4 separate regions of the Homo sapiens genome follow, and all the other regions are linked to region 1. The links are contacts of gene promoters, found by promoter capture Hi-C in blood cells and fetal thymus (Javierre and others, 2016). All regions are on one chromosome and are shown on one strand. The core of a region is centred on a gene start or on the middle of the fragment in contact, and the rest is flanking DNA. Distances in the headings are between cores, read along the strand shown.

Region 1 (4,891 bases), core at 1,782-4,281:
CGTCCACATAGGCAGAATCCTGCGACCCGAGGCAGTTGCACCCAGCTGCCTTCACTCCAGCCGCTGTTTGAGATGTGGCCGAGGATGCGCCACCACCCCAGCTCCAGCAGGAACCGAGGGCCCTCTGAGGGGGGAGTTATGGTTCCCCCATCACAGGAAGGGAAACTGAGGCAGAGAGGTGGGGTCCTGCCCATGGTGACCCATAGTGCAGCCTGGAAGTGCATGGCCGGTCCTGCTTCCACAAAGACATCAGGAAGAGAAAGGGAGGAAGGGAAGCCCTGGAGATGGCTCTTCTCAGAAGCAAGGGTGTCCATAGGCACCGGCAACTCAGGGTGCAGCTTCATCTCATCTGCTTCTGAGACCCTCCTGTGAGCTTCCCCTGCAGCGTCAGAACCTAACGGAAGCCACCGTCCCCGTGGCCATGGGCGGCTCCTGGACACAGGCGACTGCCTGTGTGCTGTCTTCGTCTCTGTAAATTAGCTTGTGTGGATCGCAGGAGGCATTTGCAGGGAGACACCGGCAGGAAGAGGACGGTTTTGTGTTTGCTACGGCTTTTGTCTTTCTGGAAAGTCTGTAATGAACTGGGCCTCCTGCTCCTCCTCTCCGCTGATGTGGCATGGATTCTGCTTAGTGAGCCGTTCTCCAGTGACCCAAAACACAACCAAAGGGCAGGACCAAGTCAGAGAAGCAAGGGAGTGCAGGGCCAAGAGGCCAGAGCCCTGAGCTGTGATGAGAGGCTGTGGCCTGTGGACTGCCTGCCCTCTTCTGTGAGCTGGGACAGCACAGATCTCTGAGCCAGGTCCCTTCAGCACCAGCTGGGCTCAGGGCTGGGTCTTGCTCACCTGGCATCCACTTTGAGTCCCTCCTTTCCCCGCCGGGCGTCCCTGGTGACGGCGTTCTTGTGTGGCCACAGCAGCTTGGCTTCAGCCTCCGGTTTTGAGTTTCCAGCTTCAGCAGTGTGGGGCCCGCAGTGGTGGAGGGTTTCTGTCCTGTCACTGGATCACGCCTGGTGCCTCCCTGGTGCTGGCCCTGCAGGTCCTGCCTCAGTGTCCCCAGGTCACTCCTGATGTGGCTTCTATTTGACTTGGCCGCCTGTCCCCCGGGGACCTACGCTCGTGACGGCAGGGGTCTCTGTTCCCCCGCTGTGGGTCCTGTGGGTCTGCTCTGGGGCCCGTGGTGCACAGTGGAGATGTGGGCGGTGCGTGTCTCCCCAGTGGCTGCTGACCCACTCTGTGGCGAGTCTCAGCTCCACCAGGCGGCTCAGCCCTGCCTCCCGGGTAGGAGCCCGAGGTTGGCCAGGCTGGGCCCAGGCTCGGGAGGGCCATGCTCCCTGCACTTCCTGGGCCCCCGCTTGCACCACGGTGTTCAGGGCACGCTGCAGTGCACAGGGGAGGGGTTGGGAGGTGACTGAGAGTCCCATTCCCGCCAGCTCCTGGGGCCGGCCGGGTGCAGCTCACTCTGCCTCTCCTGCACCTGCACCCGTCCCCCAATTAGTAAGAATAACGTGTCCTATTCCTTTTGTTTTTGTCATTTCACTTGAGTTGTGTTTTCCTGGGGCCCTAAGACTTTCTTATCCCAAACGGAGGCCATGTCTACCGGCCAGGCAGTGAGACCATTCCAGAAGGTTCTCTGTGGCCCTGCAGCCAGGAGGCGGCACATGGGAGTCTCAGCATCTAGAATGGCCCAAAAGATGGGGCTTCCAAGGACCTGGCCGGCAGCCCCCAGCCCAGCCCCCGCCCTCAGCTCCTTCCCCATCCTGGCCTCCCGCTCTGCCGCCCCGCCTGGCCCAGGAGGCCCTTCTGCCCCCGGTCCCTGCCTCTCTAGGAACGGGGTATTTGTTCTACTTCAAATGCGCCCATGACTCCAGCTGGCTCTGGTGCCCTTTGAGACCGTGGAGCCTCCAGCGGGGGCTGCAGCCTTCACCAGCACTGTGGTGAGTGTGGGGGATTTGGCAGCGTGTCACGGGCATTCCCAGCACGTCTCAGCTACACACACAGGTGGGGCGGGCCTGGGGCTTTGCATTCCCACCTCGGCTCTGGGACCCCCAGAGCCGGGCACCGTGGGAATTGAGGAGGGCCTGACCTTCCCTGGGAGCCGGGGACGGCACCAGGCCAGCCAGTTCAGCCGCATCCCGACGCCCAGGGGTCGCAGGGGGAGGTGGGGGCGCACAGGTGCTTCCTCCAGACTCTCTCATAAGGGGTGAGGGCGTTTCCCGGAACGGGTGTGGCAGCCCTGATGTAGACGCAGACGCTTCCACCACCTGTGTGGCCTTGGAGGCCCAGGCATCTGCTTTCCTCCCAGGAGGGCCAGGCTGCCCGCGCCTCTGTGCAGCCACGGGGACAGGACCCTGCAGGGCAGACCTCGCACAAGGCGCAGGTGCTGCAGGCTGAGGCAGGCCTGGTTTACTCCCCACCTCCGCATCTGGACGCCAGCGGGTGTCCCGGAAAGGGGCTGGCAGCCGCGTCTCGGCAGAGCCCCTTATTCAGGTCATTGCGTGAATCTGTGTGACCAAGGAATCACCGTTGCCACCTTTCACGTTATTTTCAAAATGATTCACTTTAGAAACATACTTTTAAAATGCTGTTCTCAGACATACGGCTGACATTTGGGGCCAGTCTGTGGACGCCCTCCACCGGCGTTCTGCAGCTGGGGCTCCAGGTCAACTCAGCCTTCAGGATGCTCTGGGGACCCTCGCTTTCCCTGGGAGGCAAGTGAGGCCCTGGCCGAAGCCCGTCCACGCCATCCAGGCAGCATCGGGGTCTCACTGTCAGGGGCCCTCTGCTCCCCTCCTCCTGAGCTCACCTGGAGGCTGCGTCCTCAGAGCGGCCCCCTCCATGCACCCAGCCGGCCCGCCCCCCGCACGTACCCCACCGGGACAGGGTGCGGCCCAGCATCTGCCCCGTGTCCGGGTTCCAGCAGTAACGCTGGAACTCCTCCATGCGCTGGCCACACGTCTTCTTCTCCTGCAGAGCCGCCATCGTCCCTGGCCTGAGATCCTCCCGTCTGCTCCCTGCACCCTCTACGCCCAGACTGAGGCCAGATGCCCACCTCTGGGCTTTATAGTTTCCTCTGCCAGAGGTCAAAGGCATCGCAGGCGAAGGATCCCAGGGAGAGGCCAGGGCCGTTTATCAGCGCCGGCCATCGCCTCACCAAACACCAGGGGCTGGGTGCAGCCCGGCTGTTGCCCCTGGGGCGGGCCAGGCCCGCTTTCCTCACCCTGCTGCTCTTGGGACGCCCTTGGCTGCAGCTTTGTCTGCTCTGATTGCGGTGAGGGCACGTTCCGGGGTGAGCAGCACTCACAGGCCCTTCCCCTTCCCTCCTCTCCTTCAGGAGGGAGATTGAGGTCAGAGCAGAGCCGGCCTGGACCCACTGTGTCCACGACCTTGGGCTGAGCCAGCTGGGGCCGCATCCCTGGCCTGGGAGGGCGTGAGGCAGGCGAGTGAGGGGCGACCGGCTCCCTGGGCCCCCCGCTGCGGCCGCCCCGATTCTGGGTCACCCAGTGGAAGGGTGAGCCTGGCAGCTGGAGCTGGGTTGGCAGGGAACACAGGGGTCCCCGGGGACTCCTCTGCCTCCCAGATTCACCCAGAGCAGCAATAGCCTCTTAGATCCCCAGAGGGCAGTGGCACCGAGGGCCCTTTAGGATTTTTTTGTGTCCATGGAGGAATTCATAAACACAAACCCCTAAATCTAGTGGTCCTCAAAATGAAGTGCACAGGAGCCCTGAGCATCTGTTGAATGCAGATTCAGCCCAGCGAGTCCTGTGGGGGCCCCAGACTGCATTTCTAACAGTGCTGGTGGGAGGGAGTAAGGCAGGGTCCAGGTGGGGGATGCTCAGCCTGGGCAGTACCTCGGGGTCACCGGGGGTCCGGGCAGTGCACTGGGGTCACAGGGCCGGGGCAGGGACCATGAAGTCATCACTGCCCACTTCCGCCCGGAGATTCTGCCTGAGCCTCTCGCCCATGGGTCCGAGCACCAGGACGTGGAGGGCTCCCAGGCAGTCTTGTTGGGCGGCGCACTTCAGAACCCCGGCTCAGACGCTTTGCTGTTGGAGACAGGGGTCCTGGATGGCAGATGCCATTGCTGCCTGCTGGCTGCAGTGCCCATCTCTGCAGGAGGTTGATGGGAATGCAGGGCAAATGAAATGTGCTCAGGGGCCTTCTGACAAATATGATTCGAAGTCGACTAGCCCTGTGTGTCCAGAATTACATGCAGAGTTTCCCATACTGTCAACTCTAGGCCGTCCCTCTCAGGGACCCGTGTAACCAAATTCATTTCTTAGAAGAAACAAAATTCCTCTAGGCATTACGCTGCTTTAATTTTTTAGGATAATTTAGAGTTTGCAAAATAATTGCCCTAAAATTCAAATGGAATGATGTCATTTTAGCCTGGATTCCTATCATTTCTTTTCTTTTTTTTAATTTCTAATTTTTATTTCTTTTATTTTTTTGTAGAGATGGGGTCTCCCTATGTTGCCCAGACTGGTTTAGAACTCCTGAGTTCAAGGGATCCTCCCACCTCGGCCTCCCAAAGTGTTAGGATTACAAGCGTGAGCCCCTGCGCCCAGCCATAATTTCTTAATGGACCTATCCTTCCTTTAACATTGTACCCATTTCTGACTTTGGAATGTTAGGGCGATAAGAACACAGGGTCTGGCAGTAAAGGCCACAGTCTGATTGTTCACAGACTGTGGCCCTGGGACCCCAGAGTGCCAGGGGTCTGACAACACCTGGATGCAGCAACTGTTGTCTGTGAAGGGTATAGATGCTCTTGAAATGAACAAAGTATGAATTATTTCTAAACATCTTTGAATTTAGTCTTCCTAATGTAGTCTCTGAATTTCCAGAAGCAGGTACATGTGCTGAGCTGTACACATGTTATCAGAATGACCTTC
Region 2 (4,775 bases), core at 1,069-3,568, 580 kb after region 1:
AAGGACAAGATGAGATTAGTCACTCTTCTGCCTACCCTGATATGGGCTACATAACTCTTTCCTCTACTCCCTCTTGTCAGATGTTTGCCTCATCTTATGTAAATTGTTGGTTTACTGAGCACTAATCAGAGCATCACTGTGGACCCCTCCCTTTTTTTCCTCCTGCTTGCCGTCTCCTCCTAAACACCCAGTCCCCATAACCCTATTTGGATGGCACAGTTGATGCTTCTGTGGCTTGCGTTTTTCCCGGGCCCATCATCAGACTTCTACTGATGGAGACATTTGCCTCAGTCACTCATTTTTGGTTAACTAGGAATCTCATTAAATGGATAGAAGTCGTTGAAAATATGGCTTAAAACACACCTCACCACATGCCTGCCCCAAGTTAATGAGCAGAGTTGATTACTGCCTGCTTGCAGAAGTGGGAAAGGAGGAGGAAAAGGAAATATACAGGGGGACAAATTTTTAAACACAACTTCAAAATATTACCCAGTCATATATGTATACACACACATAGAAAATTACACGGCAGATTACTTACAGTAGCGTGAGAGAATTTTTGAGTGGGTGGGATTCTTTACAGCAAGTTTTTTTTTTTTTGCTTCTTTGAATTTTTTTTACTCTTTTAGGTTTTTATATTTATAAAAGTTATATTTACTTTTTAAAAGTGTCAACCTTAATATTGAGATTCAGAAATATGATTACATATAGTGTGTATTTGAGCACAGAGCCTGAGAATGGCCACCTGGACAAATGGGGTCAGCCTTTCCAAGTGGAGCTCAGGTCTCTCTTACCAGGCGGAGACAGAAGCTCCAGCAGGATCACCACAGTTCTCATATGAGACCAGGGGCACACGCCGCAGCGGTTCCATTGGTTAGGGATCTCTGTATTTGAAGGAAGATTGCGTTATAACTCCATGAGGAGGGGTAGTGATCTGAGGGGGTCTTATCTCCGGTGCCATTTGGTCTTTATTGTTTACAGGGAAAAAGGCAGAAGTTACAGCTGGGTGTGGCATGACCTAGGCCGCGTAGCCACATTCCCCTCAAGGCTCAGGTAATTCAAAGTTCCAACAGCTTCAAGTTTAAATTATTTTAAGTTTGAATGATTTAATTTCACAAAAGGTAATATATGCACATTGACTGAAATTCAAAAGCACAAAAAGATATCCAAGGAAGTACCTCTCCCACTTCTACCATCTCTCATCTTCCAGCACTCCTTCCAGAGGCCTTGCGCTATGCCGGTTTTCTCATTTTTCCTTCCTGGGACAGTTTAGGGATTTTTCTACCTATCATTAAATTCGTATTTTACTCAAATGCAGGCATACGATAAACACGATCCTATACTTGCTTTTTCCCACATACTATATCTTGAAGATCGTTCAATGTCCATGCAAAGCTGACTGTTCTTTTGAACAGCCAGCGAGTATTCCATTACGTGAGCGTATCATGACCTATTTACTCAGTTCCATACTTCATGGGTGTTTAAATTGTCTGCAATCTTTTGCTATTACAAACGAAACCACAGGTCATTTTGCACACATGCAAAAATGCAAATCCATGGTATATTTCCCAAAATAAAAATCATTAGGTTTAACAGCACGAACACCTTTAAATTTGGAAGATATTCCAATTCGTTCATCCTAGAGAGTATACCAATACCACTCACAAAACTTGAGGGTGCCTGCTTCCCGACATTCCTGCTAGCAGTGTCATCAACCTTTGTGATCTTTGTTAACATATGAAAAGTGGTACTCTAATTTTAATTTTTATTATGAATTAAGTTGGACTTTCTTTCGTATGTTAAAGTCTATTTGCATTTCTTTCCCTGTGAACTGTTTTTTGCCTGTCTTTCTCCTGAGCCATTGGTCTCTTCCCACTGACTTATTACATATATGTAAAGGGAATATTGGCTCTACATTATAAGGAAATTCGAATTTTGTGATAGGTTTCAAATTTTTCCCTAGGTTGTCTTTGACTTCATTTGCTGTTTGTGCACACAATTTTTTTTTTTTGTAATGAGAGTGCGTTGCTCTTATTTTTAAAATGTTGACTACATTCTGGGGAAAGAAGGCTCAGCAGCCACCTGCTTTTTTGCCCGGGTGGGTGGTCCGGCCCCGAGCCCTCCTGACTCTCTCGCCAATGCCCAGAGGCGCCGCAGCGATTCCAGGGAGGCCGCGCTCTCGCCCCAAGGCAACCAGAAGCCCACGTGCCAGGAGAGGCATCGGAACCAACAACTCGGGTCCGTTTTCCCGCGCCAGATGGGATTCGTTTGCTGTGGACTTCCGGGGCGGGGCCTGCCTGGAGCGGAAGAGCCTGGGCAGTGCACGGGGCCTGGGTGGGGGGTGCGGGTGTGGGTGGGGACCTGCGGCCTTCGAGTCCGCGGCCTTCGAGTCCTGGGGCGGCGGCGGCGGCTGCAGGCACGGGCACGGGCACGGGGCGGGGTGCTTAGGGTGCAGGAGGCGCGCGCCTAGCGGCGGAGTGTGGCGTGAGGCCGGGCCCGCGCCGCCATGAACCTAGAGCGGCTGCGGAAGCGCGTCCGGCAGTACCTCGACCAGGTGGGCGGCCCCGACTCGGGGTGCGGGGCCCAGGCCTCGCCGGGTCTTTTTCCGCGCGGCGTGGGGCTGGGGTGACTGTTGTCGGGGCTCTTGGTGGGGAAGGACTGGGCCGGCCCTGGGCCTTCATCTGGGGCCAGCAGCGCTGTCTCCGCCTCGCCCAGAAGGGAGCGGTCCCTGCAGCTGGGAGGGGCACAGCCCGGGGAGTGGAGGCCCCCGAGCGCACGGGGCGCCTCAGTCGGGTCTGAGCCTCGTTCTGCACCTGGCGCGGAGGAGGTGCCCAGGAAACACTGACTACTCAGTGCAAGTTGAAGGACAATTTTTGGAGGAAAGTTGCAGGGCTAGCTAATAAAACATTTTTGAGAGGTTTAGTTGTAATTTTTACTGGGCTGAATTTAAGTGAATAAAGATGTGAAGAAGCCTGTTGTCTCAAATCAATACTTTAAAAATTCTCGTTAACTATGTCTGTGTTCTCTGCACTACCTTTGAATAGCAGAGAGCGTTTAAGGCAAGAAGTGTCTTCGAGAATCAGCAGCATCAGTTTTATCTATATTGTTGTTTATTTTTTGTTGAAATGCTTGCTCTTTCAGGAAATTGGAAAGAAAGGGAAAGAAAAGCCATGGTAATGCAGAGTTTTCGGAATTGGGTGCTAACTGACGTGGCCAAATGTTTGCAGTCCATTTGGAGGGCTGTGTTTTTATTTACCATGAGTCAGTTGAATTCAGTGTTTTCTGATCACTTTTTCTTCGGTACGGAGACGTAGTGAGGAATATGACAGGCCCGGTTTCCAGCCAGAGACACCGGTATTGAGCATATTTATAACTATCCCGTTGGCATTCCTCCTGCCTCGGGCTAGCAGCAGTGGTCCTGGCTTGTCTCCAGGGGAACTGAGGCAGAGACTGTAGAAGACTGAGGACTGAGGAGCAGAACAGGGTCTAAAGCTAGCCGTAGGTCACTGTGGGTGGCCCTCATTGTCGGCTCCTTCATTTTTGTTAGACTTGGAGGAGGTGAGTTCTTCCCCATGTTCAGTGAAGCTTAGTTAATTTATGTGTGTGTGTTTTTAAACTTGAGTGTTATTAAAACTGCCACTGTGTTATATAAGGTATTTGAGTATAGTGTTCTGTCTTCTAAATTTCACTTTGGGATTCATTAACAGCTCGTTGAAAGTGTTATATAAATCACACATGAATTGTTAATGACTAGCTTTTGCTGTTTCACTTGCATTTCACTTGTATGTTTCACGATACATTTTTACAGTGTATGAGTTTTAAAAAATTACCTTCATAAGTTGCATATACAAAGATATTACAGGAATGTTTGTATTGCGACACTGAACTAAAATTTACCCTACGTGAGATGTAAGATAGAGATGTAACAAATTGTTGTCTTGAGATGAAGATTTATTACATAGAATTATATTAATATATTACATAGAATTATAATAATATTAGATAACTGTTTAAGACTATTAAAATAACAGGGCAGTTACCACCTTTTTTTTTTTTTGGTATGCAGCAACAGTATCAAAGTGCTCTATTTTGGGCAGATAAAGTAGCTTCACTCTCTCGTGGTAAGTGACAAAATGCTAACTGGTTTTCTGATTAATCTTAAAATTCGTTTTCTATTTCACCTTGTACCTCTGACCACTTATGTGAATTTTTCCCTCCAGAAGAACCCCAGGACATCTATTGGTTGGCTCAGTGTCTTTACCTGACAGCACAATATCACAGAGCCGCCCATGCACTTCGGTCACGAAAACTGGACAAAGTAAGTGATGGTATGAACTTTAAAGCTCTTCAGAGCTTTAAAAAAAATGTCATTAGTGGCCGGGCGCGGTGGCTTACACCTGTAATCCCAGCGCTTTGGAAAGCCAAGGCAGGTGGATCATGAGGTCAGGAGCTCAAGACCAAGATGGTGAAACCCCATCTCCGCTAAAAATACAAAAATTAGCCGGACGTGGTGGCAGGCGCCTGTAATCCCAGCTACTCGGGAGGCTGAGGCAGAGAATTACTTGAACCTGGGAGGTGGAGGTTGCAGTGAGCTGAGTTCGTGCATTGCACTCCAGCCTGGACAACAGAGCAAGACTCTGTCTCAAAAAAAAAAAAAGTCATTAGGGTTTTAGGTGTATATTCCATTTCTGTTGAAATTATTTAACTTGATGCAATTTTTCTTTGTTTTTGTTTTTTTGAGGTCTCTCTGTGTCACCCAGGAGTGCAGTGGGATG
Region 3 (4,909 bases), core at 2,122-4,621, 550 kb after region 1:
AAACACCGAAAATCATGTACCCCTGCATCCTGTGTGGGTCCCAGCCTGGGATACTGGTACTGCTCTTTCATAACCTCACTTTTCACCCAGAAGTGGAGTTCTGCCCTCTGTGAAAATGAATATCAGCAGGCTTTCATACTCCTTAAAATCACCTTATAAATGCTTGACTGTGAATCCTAAAAGCCTCTCTTGTCTAAGGTCAATAACCTCTGCCCCCTGCATCTTACACATCCTAGAGTAACCTCATAGTTACACCATGGCCCTTTCCCTGTAAGTGCAAGATTTTGATGGTGATTGTGATAGTTAATTCTAATGAAGGGGTTTTTGTTCCGGAAGTGCTTGAACCTTTTAAGACTTTTGGCCTGTACCTATCCCCAAGAAGCTTATAGTAGTTTCAGATTTCATAATAAATTAAAATATAATTGATCCTCAGGTACCTCGAGGTGTGTGATACAGGAAGATTGCAGGCCCAGCAGGGTGCACCACTGGGAAGGTGCTGCTCCAAGCTCAGGCGGGCCCTGCATGGTCCTGTGTGCTGGCTTTGTTCAAAGGCCCAACTGGAGCAAACCTGCCTCAGAGATGATTTACTGTGGGCTTCCAGGGCTTCAAGGGAAGCCATGGGAAAGTCAACCATTTTTCTCAAGAATGCATCAGTTTGGGGCTTGATAACTGGCTATTTCATGTCTCAGTTGACTCCATTCTTTAACAAAGGACACTTGCCGAGTTAATGCACAATGCTGGAGAGAAACAGTTCGTTTTCAGGGGAGTCTCAGCTGCTTCTGGAGCACTGCAGACCAGTTGGTTGATGGAATAAACATATCTAGCTAGCTGGTCAGCCAGTAGCACAAATCAACATGAGAGAAACTATAGAGCCAACAATTGGACTTTCACTCCTGATTTCATTTTTCATGTCTTTATTCAGATGTGATTGGCATACAGTAAACACATATTCAAAGTGTATGTGATAGGTTTGTCATATGATACACCCATGACACCAGCACCCCAGTCAAGACAGTAAACATATTCATCACTCCCCAGGTTTCCCTGAGCCTTTCGGTCCCCCTACCCACCACCCTCTGCCCATCGAAGGTTCCCTATGGGTGCCTTTGCACTTTCTGGATTTTATGTGTATAGGTTCATCAAGTATCTGCGTTTTGTCTGCCTTTCAGTTAGCATAACGTTGAGTAGTGTTCCATCGTACGGATCTATCACAATGTGTTTATCCATTCACCTGTTGATGAGCATTTGGGTGGTTTCCAGTTTTGGGCTATTACAAATAAGGCTGCAATCAGAGTTTATGTAAAAAGAAATTCAGAGATGAATACCTCTGCCCAAGACTGAAAACTCAATGACAAATGGATTTCAAGTGGGATCCACATGAGAGACCCCCAGAATGACCGCATGAGGAGCTCTCTCAACCCACTCCCCAGCAAAACTTTTGAAAATGGTTAAAACACAGTCATTTAGAGTCTCTGCTGTATGGTCCTAAGAAGAAACATATATTCAAGAAAAGCTACTGTAATTTGACAAGAACAGCAAATGTCCCTGGTATATGAGCTAAAACCTGCTGTCTCCCCACTGCTTCCAGCTCAGCAATGCAGATGCACACCAGAAGCTGCAGCCAAGTGCATGGGCTCTGCTCCCCACAGCTCCTAGTCGAAGGGCCTTCTTCCTGGAAGGGGCAGGGCCTTACTTTTCTCATCTTGTCTGCAGTTGCCTGTTGCTGAGACTAAATCCCAGGTGAGTGTGGCCCCACGCTGGAGATGCTCTTGTTCTGCCCATTTCCTGTTTGTGGAGTGGATGCTTAGCCTGCAGCCTTGGGAATGGTGATCCTAAGACTACAGGAGCCAAGATCCCCTTGGTCTGGTTCATAGGCATTGGTTCCATGCTGGGAGAGTCACGCCGAGAAGACCTGTGTGTCCCTCCAACACACACACACAGTGGAGCACAGAGCCTGGGGTGTCACTCAGAGAGAAGATCGCCATTGTTCCCACTCCGAGCTCCAGGGCTCTGAGATTTTGCCCAGAGGAAGAAGCAGACCCTCGTAACAGCTCCCATTCTCTTCCCAAAGGGATGGTTTAATTTGCAACAGAATTTAGAAAAGTGCAAGCCTCACTGGACATGAAAATAAAAGACATCGAAATTGGGAAGGAAGAAGCAAACTATTTCTATTCACAGATGATATGATCTTGCATATAGAAAATCTTAAGGAATGCACTAAAAAGCTGTAGAACTAATCCACAAGTTCAACAAGGTTGCAGAATACAAGATCAATACACAAAAATCAATTGTGTTTTTATATACTTGCAATGAGCAATCTGAAGAGGAAACTAAGAAAACAATTCCATACTCAAAAGTATCAAAAGAATAGGTACTTAGGAATAAACAAAGGAAGTACAAAATTTATACTCCAAAAACTACAAACCGTCATCCACAAAAATTGAAGATCTAAATAAATGGAAAAATATCCCACGTGTATGGATTCAGAAGTCTTGCTATATTAAGATGGCAATATACAAACTATTGCAGAATTTTGCTCCTTAGTTCAGCTGAAACTGGGTACTTGTCACATGACCAGGAAAATCTAGGCACACGAACACATTGAAGGGTGAGTAGAGCAGGATTTTCTTGGGTGACAAGGGAAAAAAAGAAAAGAAAAAGAAAACTCAGCAAAGTGAGATGGAGTCCTGCTAACAGGCTCCCACCTCACAAATGGAATCCCAGGCCACCACACAGGAACTGAAGAGGCCAGGCTCCTCCCCTGCCCGTGGCTTCACCCGTTTCCCCAGTGCGCATGTGGGCATGTGCAGACAAGGCCCTGGGCAGGTTCCCTCATCTGCACAAAAGCATCTGGTGTAAACACTTGTCAGATGGGGCAGAGATTCTGGGCATTTGGCTGTCTCAAACCCAATCTACAAATTCAATACAATCCCAATTAGAACTCCAGCCAACTTCTCTGTAGAAATTGACCCACTGGTTCTAAAATTTGATGGATTGTTTTAGTCAAAACAATCCTGAAAAAGAAGATCAAAGTAGTAGGACTCATGTGTCCTTATTGTTGCTGGGGAGCAATGGCTATCTCAGCCAGTGGCATGGGGGTAATGAATTTACCAAGACAGTTGTAGGTAAAGAAAGGCAGATTTATGAGAGAAAGTAGGAAAATACATTTCGAGGAGGCAGCGGGCAGCCCACAGGAGAGAGGCTGACTATGAGGAGACCAAGGCTTGCTGGGGATTTTATAGGGTGGCATTTATGCTGAAGAGGGCTTTGTGCAGTACCAATAACACCAAAGCTACAGTGAGCTAACTTGCAGGTGTCTGGTAATAGCTCGGCACAGGAAAATTGTGAGCTGTTTGCGCAGGAGGGCTGCGTGTTCTGGACCATGAAGAAAGGCAGACTTGTCGCTTACCTGCTTTATCTCTTTGCTTTCCCTTGGTCCCACCAGCTTGACTCCTCTTTCCTAATTAGGACTCCACACCTATTTCAAACTTACTAAGAAAGCTATAGTAATCAAGATAGTATTACACTGGCATTAAGATAGACATATAAATCAATGGGAGTCCATGTGTCTATAATCAATGTATTTTCAACAAAGGGGCCAAGACCATTCAGTGAGGAAAGAATAGTCTTTCCACAAATGCTGAGACAACTCTATCGCCACATGCAAAAGAATGAAGTTGGACTCTCACCTCACACCATATAGAAGAATTAATCAAAAACGGATCAAAGGCCTAAATGTAAGAACTAAAACCATAAAACTCTTAGAAGAAAACAGTGGGAAATCATCGTGACTTCAGATTTGGCAATGGAGTCTAAGATATGGCACCAAAAGCAGGAATGACAAACAAGAAGATACATAAACTGGACTTAATGAAAATTAACAACTTTTGTGCATCAAAGGACACTATCAAGAAAGTAAAAAAAACCCACAGAATGGGAGAAAATATTTGCAAATCAGATACGATTAGGGACTTGCATCTAGAATACATGAAGACCTCTCACAGTTCAGTGATAAAGACAATGACCTCATTAAAAGATGGGCAGAAGATCTGAATAGACATTTCTCCAAGGAAGACATACAGATGATTAATAAGCACATGAAAAGATACTTAGCATCATTCATCATCAAGGAAATGCAAATCGAAACCACAACGTGATAGCACTTCACGCCTATCAGATTGACTGGAATCAAAATGACAGATAAGAAGGAGTGTTGGTGACCATGTGGGGAAATTGGAACCCTCCAGGGCTGGGAGGAATGGTGCAGCCACTTGGGAAAACAGTCCAGAAGTTCCTCAAGTGATTAAACATATTTTAATAAATATATGGGGATTAAATATATTTACCATATAACCAATTTCACTCCCAAGTATATAACCAAGAGAAATGAAAACATGTCTACACGAAAACATATACAATTGATTTTTGTGTATTGATCTTATATTCTGCAACCTTGTTGAACTTGTGGATTAGTTCTACAGCTTTTTAGTGCATTCCTTAAGATTTTCTATATGCAAGATCATATCATCTGTGAATAGAAATAGTTTGCTTCTTCTTTCCCAATTTGGATGTCTTTTATTTTCATGTTCAGTGAGGGTTGAACTTCTCTAAATTCTGTTGCAAGTGAAACAGCATTTAGAACAGCTCGTCCCTTTGGGAAGAGCTGGGAGTGGAGACAATGGCAATCTTCTCTCTGAGTGACACCCCAGGCTCTTTGCTTCATTGTGTGTATGTTGTGGGGACACACAGGTCTTCTGGGCTTGCCTCTCCCATCTTGGAACCAATGCCTGTGAACCAGCCCAAGGGGATCCGGGCTCCTGTATTCTTAGAAGCACAATTTCCAAGGCTCTAGGCTGATCCTCCATTCCATAAACAGGGGCTGGGCAGAACAATGCCACACTCACCTGGG
Region 4 (4,992 bases), core at 854-3,353, 660 kb after region 1:
TGAATCCTAGAAATCAGAATCATTCCGGAAATTAACACAGGATCCTAAATTTTGCATGAAAGGGAGGTAGAGCCAGGCGCTGTGGCTCACGCCTGTAATCCCAGCACTTTGGGAGGCTGAGACGGGCGGATCACGAGGTCAGGAGATCGAGACCATCCTGGCTAACACGGTGAAACCCCGTCTCTACTAAAAAAATACAAAAAAATTAGCCGGGCGTGGTGGCGGGAGCCTGTAGTCCCAGCTACTCGGGAGACTGAGGCAGGAGAATGGCATGAACCCGGGAGGCGGAGCTTGCAGTAAGCCGAGATGGCGCCACTGCACTCTAGCCTGGGCGACAGAGCGAGACTCTGTCTCAAAAAAAAAAAAAAAAAAAAAAGAAAAGAAAAGAAAAGAAAAAAATGTAAACACAATATAGCAACTTTTGTGATACAGCAAAAGCAATGCTAAAGGGGGAGTTTATAGCTATAAATACATCAAAAACCAAGAAAATCTCAAATTAACAACCTAACTTTACAACTTAATGAACTATAAAAAGAAAAACTAAATCCAAAGCTGGCAAAAAGAAGGAAATAATAAAGATTAAAGCCAAGATAAATGAAATAGAAAATAGAAAACGATAGAGAAAATCAATGAAACCAAAAATTGGTTCTTTGAAAATGTCAAAGCATTATTCACAATATCTTGAATAGGGAAGCAAGCCAAGTGTCCATCAACAGGTGAGTGGATAAGCAAAATGTGGCATATCCATACAATGGGATAGTATTCAGTGTTAAAAAGGAAGGAAATTCCACAATGTGCTACAACATGGATGAACCTTGAGGATGTTCTGCTAAGTAAAATAAGTCAGTCACAAGACAAATACTGTATGATTCCACTCTTATGAGTAGTCAGACTCAGAGACACAGGAAGTAAGATGGTGACTGCCAGAAAGTAGAAGGTAGAGGGGAACCGAGAGTTAACATGTAATGCATAGTTTGTTTTTCAAGATGAAAGAGGTACAGAGATGGATGGTGGTGTTATGAATATACTTACCACCACTGAGCTGTACACGTAAAGATAGTTAAGACGGTAAATTCTATGGATTTTATTTTTATTTTTTTGAGACAGAGTCTCACTCTCTCCCCCAGGCTGGAGTGCAGTGGCGCGATCTCGCTGTAACCTCCGCCTCCCCGGTTCTATGGGATTCTCCTGCCTCAGCCTCCCTAGTAGCTGGGGTTACACGCGCCCGCCACCACGCCTGGCTAATATTGTATTTTTAGCAGAGACAAGGTTTCACCAGGTTGGACAGGCTGGTCTCGAACTCCTGACCTCAGATGATTCACCTGCCTAGGCCTCTCAAAGTGCTGGGATTACAAGCGTGAGCCACCGCGCCCGGCCATTCTATAGTTCATTTTCACCACAAAAACAAAAATGAAATTCACAACAAGCAAAACTTCAGAAGGGTACAAAGGTAGAGAGCAGTGTGAGCTAATTTTACAGTCTTTCAAAGCATACAGACTGATGGCATCAGCATTAGAGGTGCATGCATTTTAATTAGAATTGTGGTGGTAACATTCATAAAACTGAAAACAAAAAACGAAGAAGATAACTTCTGGGAATCGGGACTTTCAGTGGAGGCGGGGTGATGAGAAAAGGAATATTTACTGTCATCCAACAACTTTGTCTTGTACTTTTGTCATAGGTATTATGCCAGTAATATCCCTGAGAATGTATGGGGCAGGTCTAGCTCTTTTTTTCCTAATAAATTCATTCACACAACAATCAAAACAGCAAGAAAAGGAAGAGATATCCGCACGGCGGCGGCAGGCCGGGGCCGTTCCAAGGGCCTGGCCGGAGGCCACAGGCCAGACGCGGCGGAACCCTCCCGGAGCCGCGCCCGGGCGCGCGCGGGAAGCGGAGGCGGAGTGGGCACGTGCGGCACTTCCGGGGCGGGGCGGGCACGCAGCCCTTCCGAAGGCCCGCGCGAGCCGCTAGTTTTGCCCACGCACTTTTGGCACAGCCGCGCCACGCGATCGGCGATCTGATTGGCCCGCGCGGGAGGGCGCGCGGCGCCAAACTTGCTTCCCGTCAGCCCCCGCCCGTCCCGCGGGAGCGCGCACGCTCGCGCACCCGGATCCCGGCTCCTGCATCCAGTCGCCATTCGGGAGGCCGCTGCGCTGCAGGGCCTCGCGGAGCCGCCCGCGACCGCGAGCCGGGCCCTCCGCGCGGTCCATCGCCCACTGGACGCCGCCCGCGGCCGGACCGGTGAGGAGCGAGAGCGAGCGGGGGAGGGGCGTGGTTGGGGCCTGCATCCCCGAGCCCCGTGTCGGCCGCCGACCTGGCGGGGACGGTCCCGGGAAGCCGCGGGTCCGAGTGAAGGGGGCCTGCGCTGCCTCGCTTCCCACACGGCCCGAGGGAAGGGCCCGCCCCCACAGGCCGGGGCGGGAGTGCGTCTTTGTGCAGGGAGCGGGGAGGCCCGGTGTCAGTCGCTGCCGAGGCTGGAAACATTGCGTTTGAAACCATTGGGAAGTTGAGGGCGGCACAAGACGAAAGCCATTCTTTCTGTTTTAGTTCTAGACTGCCTCCTCTTCTGTCATTATTACTGTTTAAAAATCCGCTATACAGCCTCCAAAGTGGGAGAGGACATTTGTAAACCTGATAAAGAGTTAATGTCTAGAATACAAGAAGAGATGCAACTGACCAACAAAAAGCAACCCAGTTCAAGAATGGGCAAGGAATTTGAATAGATATTTCTCCAGAGAAGAGAGACAAATGGCCAATAAGCACGTGCAGTGATGCTCAACATCACTAACCATTAAGGAAATGCAGATGAAAACCACAATGAGATACCACCTCACACCTGTTAGGGTGGCTATTAAAAAAAAGGGAAATTATGAGTGTTGGGGATGTGGAGAAATTGAAGCTCGGGTGCATTGCTGGTGGGAAAGTAGGGTGGTGCAGCAGCTATGGAAATTGGTAGTCGTTCCTCAGTTCTAGGTTTATACCCCCAAAAATTGACAGCAGAGACTCAGATACTTGTTCACAAATGTTCATCGCAGCATTATTCAAAATCCAGATGTCTATCAACATGTGGATGAAAGGCAAGCTGTGGTATATACATATAATGAATGGACCATTGTTCATCTTTAGAAAGGAATGAAATTCTGATACATGCTGCAATATAAACGAACACATTATACAGTATAAACGAGCACATTGAACACATTATGTTGAGTGAAATAAGACACAAAAAAGACATACTGTATGATTCCCCCTCAGGCACAGAATTGAGATTACCAGCACTGAAAGTGGAGAGTGGAAGTTACTGTTTCATGGGTACAGAATTTCTGTTTGTGGTGAAGAAGTTCTGGAAGTGGATAGTGGTGATGTTTGCACAACGTTTTAGTACTAAACTAACTAAATTGTGCTTTTAAAAATGATTAAATGGCAAGTTTTGTTTTTTTTTTTTTTTTTGAGACGGGAGTTTCGCTCTCGTTGCCCAGGCTGGAGTGCAATGGCCCGACCTTGGCTCACTGCAACCTCCGCCCCCTGGGTTCAAGGGATTCTTTTGCCTCATTCTCCCAAGTAGCTGGCATTACAGGCGCTTGCCACCACACCTGGCTAATTTTGTATTTTTAGTAGAGATAGGGTTTCTCCATGTTGGTCAGGCTGGTTTCGAACTCCTGACCTCAGGTGATCCACCCGCCTCGGCCTTCCAAAGTGCTGAAATTACAGGCATGAACCACCATGTCCGGCCTAAATGGCAAGTTTTTTGTTTTTATTTTTGTTTTTGTTTTTTAATGAGCCAGAGTTTCACTTTTGTTGCCTGGGCTGGAGTGCAGTTATGCGATCTTGGCCCACTGCAGCCTCCGTCTCTCGGATTTAAGCGATTCTCCTGCCTCAGCCTCCCAAGTAGCTGGGATTACAGGCGCCTGCCACCACACCCGGCTAATTTTGTATTTTTAGTAGAGACGAGGTTTCTCCACGTTGGTTAGGCTGCTCTCTGACTTTCAACCTTAGGTGATCCGCCCACCTTGGCCTCCCAAAGTGCTGGGATTACAGGCGTGAGCCTGTGGTGGCGCGCGCCTGTAGTCCCAGCTACTGGGGAGGCTGAGGCAGGAGAATCGCTTGAACCTGGGAGGTGGAGATTGCAGTGAGCCGAGATTGCGCCATTACACTCCAGCCTGGGTGACAGAGCGAGACTCCCTCTCAAAAAAAAATAAATAAATAAAAATGACTCCTTGTGTAAACTATAGACTACTTAATAAATCAGTATTAGCTTATCATTGTAGCAGATATCTCACACTAATGCAAGATGTTAATACAGGTGAAGTATCCTTCATTCGAAATGCTTGGAACCAGAAGTGCTTTGGATTTTTTTTTTTTTTTTTGGATTTTGGAATAGTTGCATTGTACTTACTGGTTAAACATCCGTAATCTGAAATCTAAAATGCTCCTTTTGGCACTCAAAAAGTTTTGGATGTTGGAGCATAATCAGATTTCAGATTTTCAGATTAGGGATGCTCAGCCTGTAGTAGGAAAAACTGGGGACAAGAAGATAGGTGGGAATTCTTGTACATTCCCTTCAGTTTTTCTTCAAACATAAAACTACTTGGAAAATTAGTTTATTAATTTCTTTCTTTTTTGGGTTGGGGGTGAGTATGGAGTCTTACTCTGTTGCCCAGCTGGAGTGCAGTGGCTCAGTCTTGGGTCACTGCAACCTCCGTCTCCCGGGTTCAAGCGATTCTCCTGCCTCAGCCTCCCAGGTAGCTGGGATTATAGGTATGCACCACCACGCCCAGCTAATTTTTGTATTTTTAGTAGAGACAGGGTTTCACCATGTTGGCTGTTGGCCAGGCTGGTCACGAACTCCTGTCCTCAAATGATCCGCCTGCCTTGGCCTCCCAAAGTGTTGGGATTACAGGTGTGAGCCACTGCGCCCGCCCAGTTTATTAATTTCTTAAAGGCCAGGCATGGTAGCTCACACCTGTAATCCCAGCACTTTGAGAGGCC

What was found. Contacts are between HindIII fragments. The CHiCAGO score rates a contact against its expected background, and 5 or more counts as called.
Region 2: a contact is called between the fragment with the promoter of CDC16 here and the fragment with the promoter of ATP4B in region 1, in 6 of 17 cell types (M1 macrophages, endothelial precursors, M0 macrophages and 3 more). The highest score is 6.8, in M1 macrophages.
Region 3: a fragment that was not itself captured here is called in contact with the fragment with the promoter of ATP4B in region 1 in 1 of 17 cell types (M1 macrophages); the score reaches 5.0 in M1 macrophages.
Region 4: the fragment with the promoter of CHAMP1 here is called in contact with the fragment with the promoter of ATP4B in region 1 in 4 of 17 cell types (total CD4 T cells, naive CD8 T cells, naive CD4 T cells and 1 more); the score reaches 7.6 in total CD4 T cells.

The regions. Positions count from the first base shown.
Region 1 is chr13:113,655,167-113,660,057 of GRCh38, forward strand. ATP4B (ATPase H+/K+ transporting subunit beta) reads right to left here and starts at 3,032. Exons shown (of 7, transcript NM_000705.4): 1 at 2,867-3,032. The coding sequence starts at 2,978. It also overlaps a transcript of GRK1 not described here. RefSeq lists an enhancer at 2,351-2,851. The HindIII fragment of the contact is 11,349 bases long and covers 1-4,891 here.
Region 2 is chr13:114,232,579-114,237,353 of GRCh38, forward strand. CDC16 (cell division cycle 16) reads left to right here and starts at 2,319. Exons shown (of 18, transcript NM_001078645.3): 1 at 2,319-2,554; 2 at 4,067-4,121; 3 at 4,221-4,318. The coding sequence starts at 2,507. RefSeq lists an enhancer at 2,118-2,167 and a silencer at 2,278-2,637. The HindIII fragment of the contact is 7,021 bases long and covers 1-3,583 here.
Region 3 is chr13:114,200,966-114,205,874 of GRCh38, forward strand. The region is part of intron 3 of CFAP97D2 (CFAP97 domain containing 2); the gene reads left to right. Among named protein-coding and RNA genes, the nearest start is that of CFAP97D2, 24 kb to the left of the region's middle. The HindIII fragment of the contact is 5,983 bases long and covers 381-4,909 here.
Region 4 is chr13:114,312,400-114,317,391 of GRCh38, forward strand. It overlaps CHAMP1 (chromosome alignment maintaining phosphoprotein 1), which reads left to right and starts at 2,104. Exons shown (of 3, transcript NM_032436.4): 1 at 2,104-2,244. RefSeq lists silencers at 695-989, 1,762-2,441. The HindIII fragment of the contact is 6,923 bases long and covers 1-4,992 here.